Regions from separate parts of the Homo sapiens genome. Here region 1 is linked to region 2. Evidence: promoter capture Hi-C in human tissues and cell types (Jung and others, 2019). All regions are on one chromosome and are shown on one strand. Each heading gives the region's core, a stretch centred on a gene start or on the middle of the fragment in contact. The rest is flanking DNA. Distances are from core to core; before and after follow the strand shown. Region 1 has its middle 170 kb from the start of SH3BP4. Region 2 holds the start of AGAP1 (ArfGAP with GTPase domain, ankyrin repeat and PH domain 1).

Region 1 (6,387 bases), core at 3,042-5,541, 380 kb after region 2:
TAGTTGGAGGCAACCTAGGTGTTCATCGCTAGGGGAATAGATAAGAAAATGAAGTTGAGGCAGGTGAAGAAATAGCTGCCAGGCTTTGTGACAATACACCAGATATTGCAACAGTAACATAGGGAGATCTTAAGAGATATAATGAAAAGATAAGGAACCATTTAATGTAAAGCAAGGAACTATGTCGTTTACACTTTATGTGAATTAACTTCACCACCACTCCCCACCCCGCCCCCTGCCAACACACACACATTCACAAACTTATTTTCCAAAGACACATATCAAACCCTCTAGGGCAGCTCCATCTGAAGAAAGAACTAAGGAGGAGAGAATTGGAGAATGTGGAGGCGGGAAAAAAATGAATGTATTAAAAGCCAAGAGGGAGTCTTGTACAAATCATGGTGATGTTGTACCTTGAACTGAAGAGAATAACTAATTTAAATCTCTGCAACTGAAGTGCCAAAAAGAAAAGTAAAACAGAAAAGTATCTGTATGTTCTTAGCTTACAAAATCTTTGTTTTTATCAAGAATGGATCTGGCCCCCCCTCCGAAATCTCTTATTTCATTTGTTCCTTTTATCTACTTGATTAAATTTATTAAGAGAATAATTGTGTTTCACTGTATGACAATACCATAATTTATATATTCATTCTACTATTCAAGGATATTTGCATTGTTTTGCATTTTTAGCTTTACATTTAATGTTGCTATGAATGCTTTTGCGCATATATTTTGGTATATTTGTGCATGGGCCATAAAATATGTGTATATTCAATTTTAATAAATAATACTAAATAGATTTCCAAAGTGCTTATATCAATTTACTTACACTGCCACTAATAGTGCACATGAATTACTCCACATCCTCATCAACACTTAATGAAGTCAGTCTTTTAATTTCAGCTCATCTAGAATGTATTTAAGAATTTAGCTAATAAAATGGTAGTCTCTTACTGTGTTTTAAATTTGTATTTCTCTGGTAGCTAATGAAGTCGAAGTTCTTCTTAGATTCTTTTGGAAAGTTCCTGATCAAATTTTTTACACATTTTCCTTTTCATTGATCTTGAATATAAGCCTTTGGTCAAGTACATGGTTCACAAATATAAACATTTATATTTGTTGGTATTGCATTTTTATTCTTTTAAAGGTCTATTTTGGTAAACAGAAATGCTTAATGTCAATCATCAATTTATGTTTAATTTATCAATTATGTTCATTAGGTTTAGTGTCTTTTTAAAAATCTATTTCAGAAATCGGTTCTTACATCAAAGTCATGAAGATATTCTCCATCTTTAGTATTTCTTTTAGTGCAAGTCTACTGGATACAAATTTTCTCAGCTTTCATTTGTCAAAAATTCCTTATTTTGCTTTATTTTCATTAATATTTTCAATGTTTATAAAATTTTAGTTTGGCTGATACCTAGCCCTTTAAAGATGTCATTCCACTTGCTCCCATGAGTATGTTGTACAGTCAGCTGTAAGCTTTATTCTTGATCCTTTGAAAGTAAAGTATTCCCACTATTCCCGCCTGCTTTTAAGATTTTCATTTTGTCTTTGGTTTTCAGCAGCTTGACTAAGATGTGCCTATTCTAGTTATCTTGGGGTTTGCATAGACTCTTGAACCTGTGGGTTGTTGTCTTTCATTATATTTTAAAACATATACTTAGCCATTCTGTCTTCAAATATTATTTATGCTCTTTTCCCTCTTCTCCTTTGGGGACACAATATTCTGTATATGTACACAATATTCTGTACTGTTCATTCCATTATTTTTCTCTCTTTGCTTCAGTTTGAATAAATTCTATTCCTCCCCATCTTCTGTTATGTCCAGTGTACTGTTAAATTCATCTAATGAATTCTTCATTTCAAATATTGTATTTTTCAGTTCTAGACCGCCCAGTTGCTTTGTTCATATATATTCAATTATGTTGAAATTCTCTATATTTTCTCTTGTTTTTCCATGCCATCCTTTATTTTCTTGAATGGCTAATCAATTTTTAAAATTTCTCTTTGATAACTCCAATATCTAAATCACCTGTGAGACTATATATAATGTTTACATTTTTCTTAACGTTTGTTTCTCTTGGTCCTGTCTTTTTTACCATAACCTTTAATTTTTATATTTTATTTTGCTCATTGTAGATAAAAATTGTAGAGGCTCCGATAATGATGTTTTTCTTCAAAGAAAGTTTTTTTCTTCCTGTCAGGCAGTTCTCTATCAGTGAATCACCTTGGGTCCCATGGAGGCTTGATTTTCAGCTTTGTTAGAGGTGGTCTCTATTCCTCATGCAACGATTTAAAAAAATTCCCACAGGGAAAACAACCAGGGTTAATGTAGACATTATCTTGTGTGAGCACTATTCGCAATAGCAAAGACCTGGAACCAACCCAAATGTCCAACAATGATAGACTGGATTAAGAAAGTGTGGCACATACACACCATGGAATACTATGCAGCCATAAAAAATGATGAGTTCATGTCCTTTGTAGGGACATGGATGAAGCTGGAAACTATCATTATCAGCAAACTATTGCAAGGACAAAAAACCAAACATCGCATGTTCTCACTCATAGGTGGGAATTGAACAATGAGAACACATGGACACAGGAAGGGGAACATCACACACCGGGGCCTGTTGTGGAGTGGGGGGAGGGGGGAGGGATAGCATTAGGAGATATACCTAATGTAAATGACAAGTTAATGGGTGCAGCACACCAACATGGCACATGTATACATATGTAACAAACCTGCACGTTGTGCACATGTACCCTAGAACTTAAAGTATAATAAAAAAAAGAGAGAAAAAAAAAGAATACCAGAAAAGAAAAAAAAGAAATTATCTTGTGTGCTTCCCTTCTCTCACTCTCACAATTGTGCCTTTCAGTACTGTCTACATTAGTTGCTGCCCACTGCTTCACACAGTCATTTTGTACATTTTATTCAGCTTTTATAGGATTTTTTCTTGGCATGAAAGTTAGTCCAATTTAAGTCACTCCATTATGTCTGAAAGCAGACACTTGATTTGTCTCAATTAGAGATATTTTACAAAGCTTTTATGGCCTCACTTTTTACATGCCTGATTGGAATATAGAATGTTGGCGTTGTGAGTATGTGCGTGTGTATTTGTATATACACATACTTCTACTGCTTTCATGCTTCTGTTAATTACTCCTTGTATTTCAGTTTTTGCTTTATGTATTTTTAAAGCTGTAGATGGCACTTTCTATAAATTTAAATGTCCAATTTTGTCTCAAGTATTTTTTCTAGCCATTGCTGTCATAAAATTTCTTTCTCTCGCTAGTAGTTTGGTAGCCTGGAAAAAATAGGAGTGGAGAAACTCCAGAGACCATAATAGCAGGGAGAGTTACCACCTTACCACTTTGTTTCTTATCGTCTTTGCCAAACCATCCAAACATTTATCTGTTTTGTTCACCGTTGCCTGTCATGCTTTCCATATAGAATAAACTTTTAATGTTATTTAATTGTAACTTCTCTTTTAATCAGCAGTCTATTGTGGTTTTGTATTCTAATAGAAGATGGAAGCCTTTGCCTTTTAATAAATAGCACTTATTACGTGTCAGATTTTATGCTTTTTTTTTCAGTCACCTTGATATTTCTTTTTTGTTATTCCATTTACTCTAGGAAACTGTGATTCACTTCCCCATGTAAAACTGATCCCCAGGCATTCAATCTATTCCTTAGTCGTTAGTGGTTGCCCACTAAGTTTCAAGCGAGGAGACAGCTTCCTGACTTTCAATCCATTAATACATTTTGATCACAGTCCCACCACTTAACTATCTTTGTCATCTCAGGTAAGGTCCTCAGTTTTGTCACCTCTAGAACAAATCAATTAAACAAAATGATTTGTTCTCTACAAGTATAAAGGTTTAAAAGATAGTATTCCACTAGGCTTTTTTGCTTATTTTCTTAATAAAAACACCCCAAATATTTCTAAAGCAGCAGGCTTCTTAGCTTTCTCTGAAATTACTTCAGGCAAAGGCACTATTCAATTATGCTTATCAGCTCAGACTGATGGGCTATATGTCTAAAATTGGCCCATAAAGGTAAAAGCATTATTAATTAATACATGAAAGCTTAGGAAATAAAGTACTTTGGAAAATCTATGAATTTTCATTTGAATAACATTACAAAAGAATTTAAGTTGCAAGACCATATACAACATCATAAGTTAGGGAGGAAAATAAAGAATAAAAAGAAATTTCAGATACAGAACCAATGGAGATGGAATTACTAGTTTGGGATGAACGGACTGGAAATAAACAAGCTACTGTTTCCTTCCTCGTCTTTTCACAATCCGCTGCAATGGATTCAGAAAAAGAAAGATTGTAATTGTTACAGCCTGTTTATTTCCACCAGGGGGAGGTATAGTATTGCAAATAAAGTTAAATTATTTAACAAACAGAGTAATAAAATAGCTATTGACTGAAAACAGGCTTTTTTTTTCTGGTTTTGCAGAAAGAAGGTAGGGAAGAGAGAGTTCTAAGACTGTGTGAATTAACCTTTCATGCTTAATTCCTGTACCATTTGATAAGGAGAAGAGAAACTCCTGTGTAGGAATTCAATAAAATTTGTCCTTCTCCAGAAAAAACTTCATACTATAATTTTGAAAAAAATAAAATATATATTGACATAAACTTCACCTTTGTATTAACTCTTCCTAAGATATATGTCATTTTCAATGAAAATCTATGAAACCTTTGTCAAAATTGACCTGGAATATGAGTGAAATGATAATAATTGTGGGTTTTACAAATTAATTTGAAATAATTTAGAATGTATCAAGCACTGGTCGATGAGGGAAGGATATAAACAACACACAACTAAGGGCTGCTGCCCAGGAGGCACCAACAATTAAAGGCTGAGATCGTGGTAAGCAGATCCAAGGAATGAAAGGAAAAAAAAGAAGGTGTTTGAAACAAACTCTTGGAGGCCCCAGAGTCTGCAGTGAACACAAAAACTGCAGGGGCTGGAAGCAGAGGAGCAGGGGCAAGTCGTGGGGGAGAGGATGGCTTGGCCTGCAGGATGGGAGCATCGGGAAGGACCACGGGGTGAGAGAGGCAGAGCTTCACTTTCAGGAAAAGTGGGAGCTAAGGCATGGCTGGAGAGGTGGCTTCGCATTATGGATGACCTTGAGTGCAGAGCCAAAGATGAGAGATGTGGCCAGATGAGGCACGATGACAGCAGCATCAGGTGGGGGTGTGCGGGTGGAAGGGGACTGAGCTGAATGTCCCTGAGTCTCAGACCAGAGAACCAGGCTCAGCCAATACTTTCTCATGCTCACATCTCTGGTCAAGTCACAGAAGGACTCACTTCCACCACCTCCTCTATGCTGCAAACGAAATGCCACCCACACGGTACCCTTCTTTGTTTGAGTTATGTAAATTAAAAATAGTGTGATATAGGAAAGATTAATAAAATCTCACTCCAAATGAGATGGATCTTCTCCAAACTAGGAAGAAGAATCACTGAGAATTGCATACTGTAATTTCAAAGCTTGCAAGCAGAGTCCATTCTAGCTTGTCTTTATGCTATTGTCATATGGCAGGAATAGTTCCACTGTGTACAGAAATTCCTACCCATCCTTTAAAAAATTATATGAATATTTTAAAATTTCAAAGCCGCTTGCAAGCTTTGAAATTACAGTATGCTATTCTTGGTGATTTTTTTTCTTAGTTTGGAGAGAATCCATGTCATTTGGAGTGAGATTTCATGAATCTTTCCTATATCAAATTTACATAGCTCAATATAAAACAATAGACTTTCAAAAACAGATGCGTCATTAATTATCATTCAGCTGATTTTCTCTGCCATGTGAAATCCAAATATATCTCAATGGTCCACGTGGCCCATTCTCACCATGGTGTCATCCAAAGCATGCGAAGTAACTGTAATGCCAATCACAGTCATGTCTCTAAGAAAGTTAAATGACATATATTTCACACACGACAGTAATCCTTTTAAAATTCCTTTTCTTCTTTTCTTTTTTCTCCCTCTCTACAAGCCCCTAAACTTTTCTGAAGCCTACCCATTTGCTTTTTCTGTTTCTTCTCTGCTTTGCTTTTTCTGCGTTCTAAGTCAGCTTAGCCTTTCTACTTTCTTTTAGGTTTCTTTCCTCTACAACCGTGAGCAGATTCTCCATAACCAGTGAGATCTCAGATCTGACTCAGGAAAGGGTGTCTTCACCATGTAGCCAACACTTTTATTTTTTATTACCCTTGCTTTGTTATATAATATTTTAACATAAGGCTTCAACTACCTCCATACTACTTTGATTTTTTTCCTCCGCATCATTCTTAATGTTTTTCAGTGGCCTCTTCTAAAATAGCAAGTAGTATAATAGTGCTTCTTTGGCCTCCTCACCATTG
Region 2 (6,212 bases), core at 246-2,745:
TGCAGACATATGAAAGCGAGACCCTTCCGCTGGAGGACGCCCTGCCCTCCTGGTAGGGTTCTTCCTCTAATCCAACCCCGGACTTTTGGTTGGTACAAAGCACACTACCGGTTCCAGCGTTTGCACAGGGGCACCTGGACACGATGCTCCCGCGGCTAGGGCTGGCTCTCGGCATCCACTAAGTTCAACTGCACCCCTGAATTAAGCAAACACACTAAGGAGGGCAGCCCTGCACCGCCCAAACACGCCGGCCCGGGCCTCGCCCCCAGCGGCAGCACTTCTCAGAACACGTCTTCAACGTCCAGCAAGACGCCCAGGCCTGGCCTGGTAACCTGTCAGGGGTCGGGTGGCGCCGACCCCGCCGGCTGCCCCCAGGCGTCTGCTGGGCCGGGACGCTCCGGCAGCCCAGGACGCGGAGGCACCGAGCCACTTTCCCGCAGGAGAGACTCTATTGTCCACGATCAAATTAACGCTGACGATCTATCTTCCTGGCGGAGCTCGCGGCGCGGCGGGGCGCAGGCGACGCTCGCCCGGCCTTGCAAGACAAGCAGCGCCGCAGTGCTCCCTCGGCGGAGCAGCCGCGTGCCCCGGCCGGCGTGTGTGGACACCCGCACGCACACAGCGCACACCCCCGCCGCGCCGCGGGCGTCCGTGCCTTCCCGAGGCCCCAAGGCGGCCCGGCCCTCACCTTCGATGGCGATGACGTGCTCCCGGATCTGGTTCTGCAGCACCGGCTCCTCCACGCGCTCCAGCAGCTCGTAGATGGAGTAGATGTTGGGGTGGACCGACTCGAAGCGCTGGATCTCGGCCCGGATGGCAGCCGAGTTGGCCAGCTGCTGCTGGTAGTTCATGGTGCAGGCGCCGCGCCCGGAGCCGCGCGCCCCCCGCCGCCGCCGCCCCGCGCCCCGGGGCCCGCGGGCCGCCGAGCCCGGGGCGCCGCAGCCCCCGGGGAGCCGGGCCCGCCGGCGGCGGGCGGAGGAGGCGCGAGAAGAAAGGCGCGGGCGGAGCAGGCGCGGGGCTGGCCCGCGGGCTCAGTTCATGGCCGGGACGCGCGGCCGGCGAGCGAGCGGGCCCCGGCGTCCCGGGTCAGCGGGCCGCCCGGGGGGAGCGCGCCCCCATGGAGCGCGCCGCGGCGGGTGCGGCCGGCCCCGAAGGAGGCTTGCTCGGGTGACTTCCTGAGCCGCAGCCGCCTTCCAGCCCTAGGCGCTGCTCCGCGGAGCAGCCATTAAAGCCCAGGCAGCCGCCGCGCTCCGAGCGCCGGGGCCGAGGGCCGACCCCTGGGCAGTGTGGCCGCGCTGCTCTGGGCTCCTGGCCGTGGCGTGGGTCCGCGCGCTGCGTACTGCGCCGCCCGGCGCGCCGGGGCCCCCGCGCGAGCCCGCCGTGCGCCGCCCGCCGACCTGGGACCGAGTCGCAGGCGCCTTGCAAGCCGCGGAGCCCGCTCCGAGCGCCGCCCGCCGCCTGCCCGGCCGGCCCCCTCCCTGGCACGCAGGGCTCCGGCCCACGTCGGCCCCGCCCCCGCCTTCGCCCTCGCCCGCGCCCGCGCCCGCGCCCCGCCTGCCCGCGCGCTTGCCGCCCTCCGGCCGCCGGCGCTGCGTCCTCCTCGGCGCTTCCCAGCGCGCCGGATCCCGGGGAATTGCGCCAGGCCCCGCCCCGCGCCTGCCTCTGGGCTTCCTGGGACTTGTAGTCCGCGCCCCCGGCGGGCCGGGCCAGGGGGGTGCGCGGGGTGTTCACACTGGGCCGGGGTGCGGGACCCTCCCGCCGGCCAGGCCCCGCGCCTGCCAGCTCCTGCCCGGGTTCTCGCGGCGGCCCCCGCGCCCCGGCACGGGGGAGGCTGCCCGGGAGTTCGCCCGCCGCGTTGTTGTTTGTTTCCAAGCGGCTGGCTCCAGGAGCCTCTGCGACTCGCCAGTGTCCCACGGCCTCGCTTGGTTGGCGAGCCTCCCCTTCCCGCGTTTGGTAACTTTCTGCCTCCTTTCTCAAAGTAGCACACGTGCTTTCCCTTAATACATGCGATTTCTTTCCAAAGGCGAAGCGCCTCCTGAGCCCATGCGGCGTGGGGGTCCACACTCCACGAGTGGACTGAAGTTTAGACAGGGGTGCGAGATGCGACAAAATACCACAGAGGCTTTCGAGGCATCCTTCTCCCTTACAATTTTTAAAAATCGAGCCGTGGATCTCAAGCTGCTGCCTCCTGAGCGCCGCTGCCTGCTCCACGGGGTTCCTTAGCCCCTGGACCGTCTGTCCCACCGCAATCCCCGATTTAGGTCATCCCCGGGGACCCCCCGCGGAGCTGGGACCGCACTGCAGCAGCGCTTGGAAGGCTCGTCTCGCCGCTTTGAGGCAAATGGGACCCTTCAGATTTGCGGAAGCACTGGCTGCCGGGCGGTCCCACAAGGTCCTGGATTGAGGACACTGGCTGAGTCCCTGCCCCCAGCCATCGGCGTGGTCTTTCTGAAACTCAGCCAGCCGGGCCGGCATCCCCGTTTAAAGCCTGCTGAGCCTTCACCGGCTCACATGCAGTTTGCTATGGCCTAAGCACCCTGGTATCCAGCCGTGTTGGCTTACTGGCTGGGCTCCACAACTTCCCAAAGATGTGCTGACATTTTTACCATTCCGGACCTGCTTGTCTTCTCCTTGACACTTAGGCACAGGTCATCACTCCATGCCTCGGGCTGTCCACGCATAAGTAACTCTAGTAACCAAGAGGCAGGCATGTGGCCTCACCAAACCTGACCTATCAGCAGCAGCTGATCACTTGCGCTCCTGGAAACCCCTTCTCCCAGTGCTCACCAGGGCTTCCTGCTGTGTTTCTGGCTTCACTGTCCCTTTTGTGGTTTTCTTCTACTCCCCTAACCTCTAAATATGGAGGGCCCCAGGGCTTATGGTTAGGCCTCTTTTCTTTGCTATTTGCTGTGATCGCCCCTGTCTTATGGCTTTGAATATCATACACAGGTTAATGAAGCTCATATGTATCTCCAGCTGTGACCTCACCCCTGAATAACAAATTCACATCCACCTGCATCCTCAACATTTCCTGAAGCCTAGCTGGTGTTTAAGTCCAGCATGTCGCCAGCTGAACTCCTGCCATCCCTTCCGGCTACATCTCCTAAAAATCTTCTCCATCCCAGTCATCGGCAACTCCAGGCCACCATTTGCTTAGGCGAAAAATTCAGTGCTGTCCTTTTTGCTTATCATTCTCTCATATCCCAAATGGTGTCAGCTCCACCTTCAGAGGATCCAGAATCCCACGACTTCTCACCACTCGGCTGAAGTCAGGATCATCTAGCTGGACCATCACTAGATCTAACAATTGTAATAGCTCACTGCTTCCTACCTGGTGAAACTTACAAAACCTACGTCCGGACTTGTCATGCCTTTTCTCAAAACCCTCCAATGACTCCCATCTGGCCTCGCCCCACAGGCATGAGCTCTTATCAAGAGCTGCTCAGGGGCTGAGCTATTCCCCTACTTGTAAGCTAACAAGTTAGCCTGCCACAATTCATGGATGCTGGCAGAAGACATGAGACTCCCAGATCAGAAACAAAGGACTTTGTTATTCATAATAGTAGCATTAGCTGGAATATCAGCATTTTCATGCACCAGTTTACTGAGACCCAATTCCCACGGGCAACATGAGGCCCAGGTGAAGCCTGTACTTGGAGTCAGCTGCCCTATACGAGTTTTATAAGTTTTTAACCCTTAGCTTAGAGAGCTCAGATCTTTCATACGGGCAGTAAGTGTGTCTGCCCTTCACTCCAGAGGGAGACACTGTTTTTATCATGGACAGTAAGCATGTCTACCCTTGACTGTGGCAGAAAACATTATCTCTGTCTTCCAAGGCTGTTTGCTCTGCAAACATCCTTGAGAATATAGTCCAGAGCAAAGGCGCCTGGTGTCTCTACCTGTGTACCTGTGTTACCCAGCAAGGGCTGCCATAAAAACCTTCCACAGGCCTGGCATGATGCCTCATGCCTATAATCCAACACTTTGGGAGGATTGCTTGAGCCCAGGAGTTCGAGACCAGCCTGGGCAACATGGTGAAACCCCATCTCTACAAAAAATACAACAATTAGCCAGGCACAGTGGTGTGAGCCTCTAGTCCCAGCTACTCCGGAGGCTGTGCAGGGAGGATGGCTTGAGCCCAGGAGGTCAAGGTTGCAGTAAGCTGTGATCATACCACGGCACTCTAGCCTGGAGGACAGAGCAAGACCATCTCAAAAAAAAAAAGGCCGGGCGTGGTGTCTTACGCCTGTAATCCCAGCACTTCGGGAGGCCGAGGCAGGCGGATCACGAGGTCAGGAGATCGAGATCATCCTGGCTAACATGGTGAAACCCCGTCTCTACTAAAAATACAAAAAAATCAGCCGGGTGCAGTGGCGGGTGCCTGTAGTCCCAGCTACTCGGTAGGCTGAGGCAGGAGAATGGCGTGAACCCGAGAGGTGGAGGTGGAGCTTGCAGTGAGCCAAGATCGTGCCACTGCACTCCAGCCTGGGTGACAGAGGGAGACTCCTTCTCAAAAAAACAAAACAAAACAAACACACAAAAAAAACTTCCACAGGCTGCATGGCTTTAACAGAAATCCATTTTCTCAAAATGCAGGAGGCTCAAAGAGCCAAGATCAAGCTGTTGCAGGGTTGGTTTCCCCTTGGCTTGTGGATGCTGCCTTCTCACTGTGTTCTCACAGGGTCTTTCCTCTGTGTGTCTGTGTCCCCATCTCCCCTTCTTAGAAGAACTCCATTCATATTGGATTAGACCCCTTCCTAATGACATCGTCTTAGCTTAGTCATCTCTTTCAAGGTCCAATTTCTGAATATAGTCATATTCTGGGGTACTGGGAGTTAGGACTTTAATATATGAATTTTGGGGACATAATTCAGCCTATGACTGTCTCTCTCGCCACAGCATCTCTACTTCTAGCCTGTTCTCTCCTCTTCGGCCACACTGGCCTCCTTGTTGCCCCCTAAATATACCCATCACACCCCCACCCTTGTCATCTGCTTCTCTGTCTCCCTGACCCCTTCACCAGGACTTTTGTTTCCTTATGTATTTGCTCCAAAGCCACCTTCTCAATGCGACTTTCCCTAACATCTTCTCTAAAATGGCATCCCTGTTCCCCAACACTTCATGTCCCCCTTCCTTGCCACAGTAGAAAGAATAATGGTCCCCTAAGATGCCCACATCCTAATCCCTGAAACAAGTAGATATGTTAGTCTAAGTGGCAAAGGACTTTACAGGTCTGATTAAATTAAGGACCTTGAGATGAAGATATTATCCCAGATTATCTGAGTGGGCCCAGTGTAATCACAGGAGGCCTTATACGAGGAAGGCAGGAGGGTCAGAATCAGAGGAGATATGATGACAGGTGTAAGAGAGAGAGAGAGGAGAGGAAGGCAAGGGAGAGAGAGAGATTGGAAGATGCCGCTGGGCTGACTTTGAAGATGCAGGAGGGGGCCACCAGCCAGGGAATGTGGGCTGCCTCTACAAACTGGAAAATGGAAGAAAACAGATTCTCTCCTAGAGATTCCAGAAGGATCACATCCCTATTGACCCATTTTTGGACTTCTGACCTCCAGAACTATAAGATAATAAATTTTTGTCATTTAAGCCACTAAATCTGTGCTAATTTGTTATAGCAGCAATGGGAGATTAATGCACTTGCTTTATGTTTTTCTTAGCACTTATTCCCGTCTAACTCACCATATACTTTAGTTATTTATCTTGTGTATGGTTTGTGTCCCCCATTAAAACATAAGCTCCACAAGGGCCAGGATTAATTTTTGTCTGTTTTGCTCCCCATTCTATTCCAGTGTCTATAACAGTAGCTGACACATAGTAGCTACCCAATAAATGTTTGGCAAACAAACAGCTTCCCCATTAAATTATAATTGTCATGAAGACAAGGACCATATTTCTCTTGCACAGGGCTTGGAGCATTATAATGCAACAAACGTTCAATAAATTAATTAATCAACAATATCTCTCCTATGGTAAGAGCTGTTCTCTCATCATGCCAGGCACATAGTAGGTGCCTAATAAAGATTTGCTGAATTAAAATGGAAGTTTCTCCAGCAACATGGGACCCAGTGACATTTACCAGGAATGTGCTGCAGATTTATCTTCTGTGAATAGAGCCAAGAATTCTAGCCGTGTGTGTGTGTGTGTGTGTGTGTGTGTGTGTGTGTGTGTGTGTGTGTGAGACGGTCCTTCCAGGCACT

What was found. Contacts are between HindIII fragments. The study calls those that stand out against the background at their distance.
Region 1: a contact is called between a fragment that was not itself captured here and the fragment with the promoter of AGAP1 in region 2, in 3 of the 25 tissues and cell types used here (dorsolateral prefrontal cortex, heart right ventricle and mesenchymal stem cells).

Annotation. Positions count from the first base shown.
Region 1 is chr2:235,115,085-235,121,471 of GRCh38, reverse strand. No RefSeq gene overlaps it. Among named protein-coding and RNA genes, the nearest start is that of SH3BP4, 170 kb to the right of the region's middle. The HindIII fragment of the contact is 4,047 bases long and covers 2,268-6,314 here.
Region 2 is chr2:235,489,326-235,495,537 of GRCh38, reverse strand. AGAP1 (ArfGAP with GTPase domain, ankyrin repeat and PH domain 1) reads right to left here and starts at 1,495. Exons shown (of 18, transcript NM_001037131.3): 1 at 689-1,495. The coding sequence starts at 851. RefSeq lists an enhancer at 1-241. The HindIII fragment of the contact is 11,360 bases long and covers 1-6,212 here.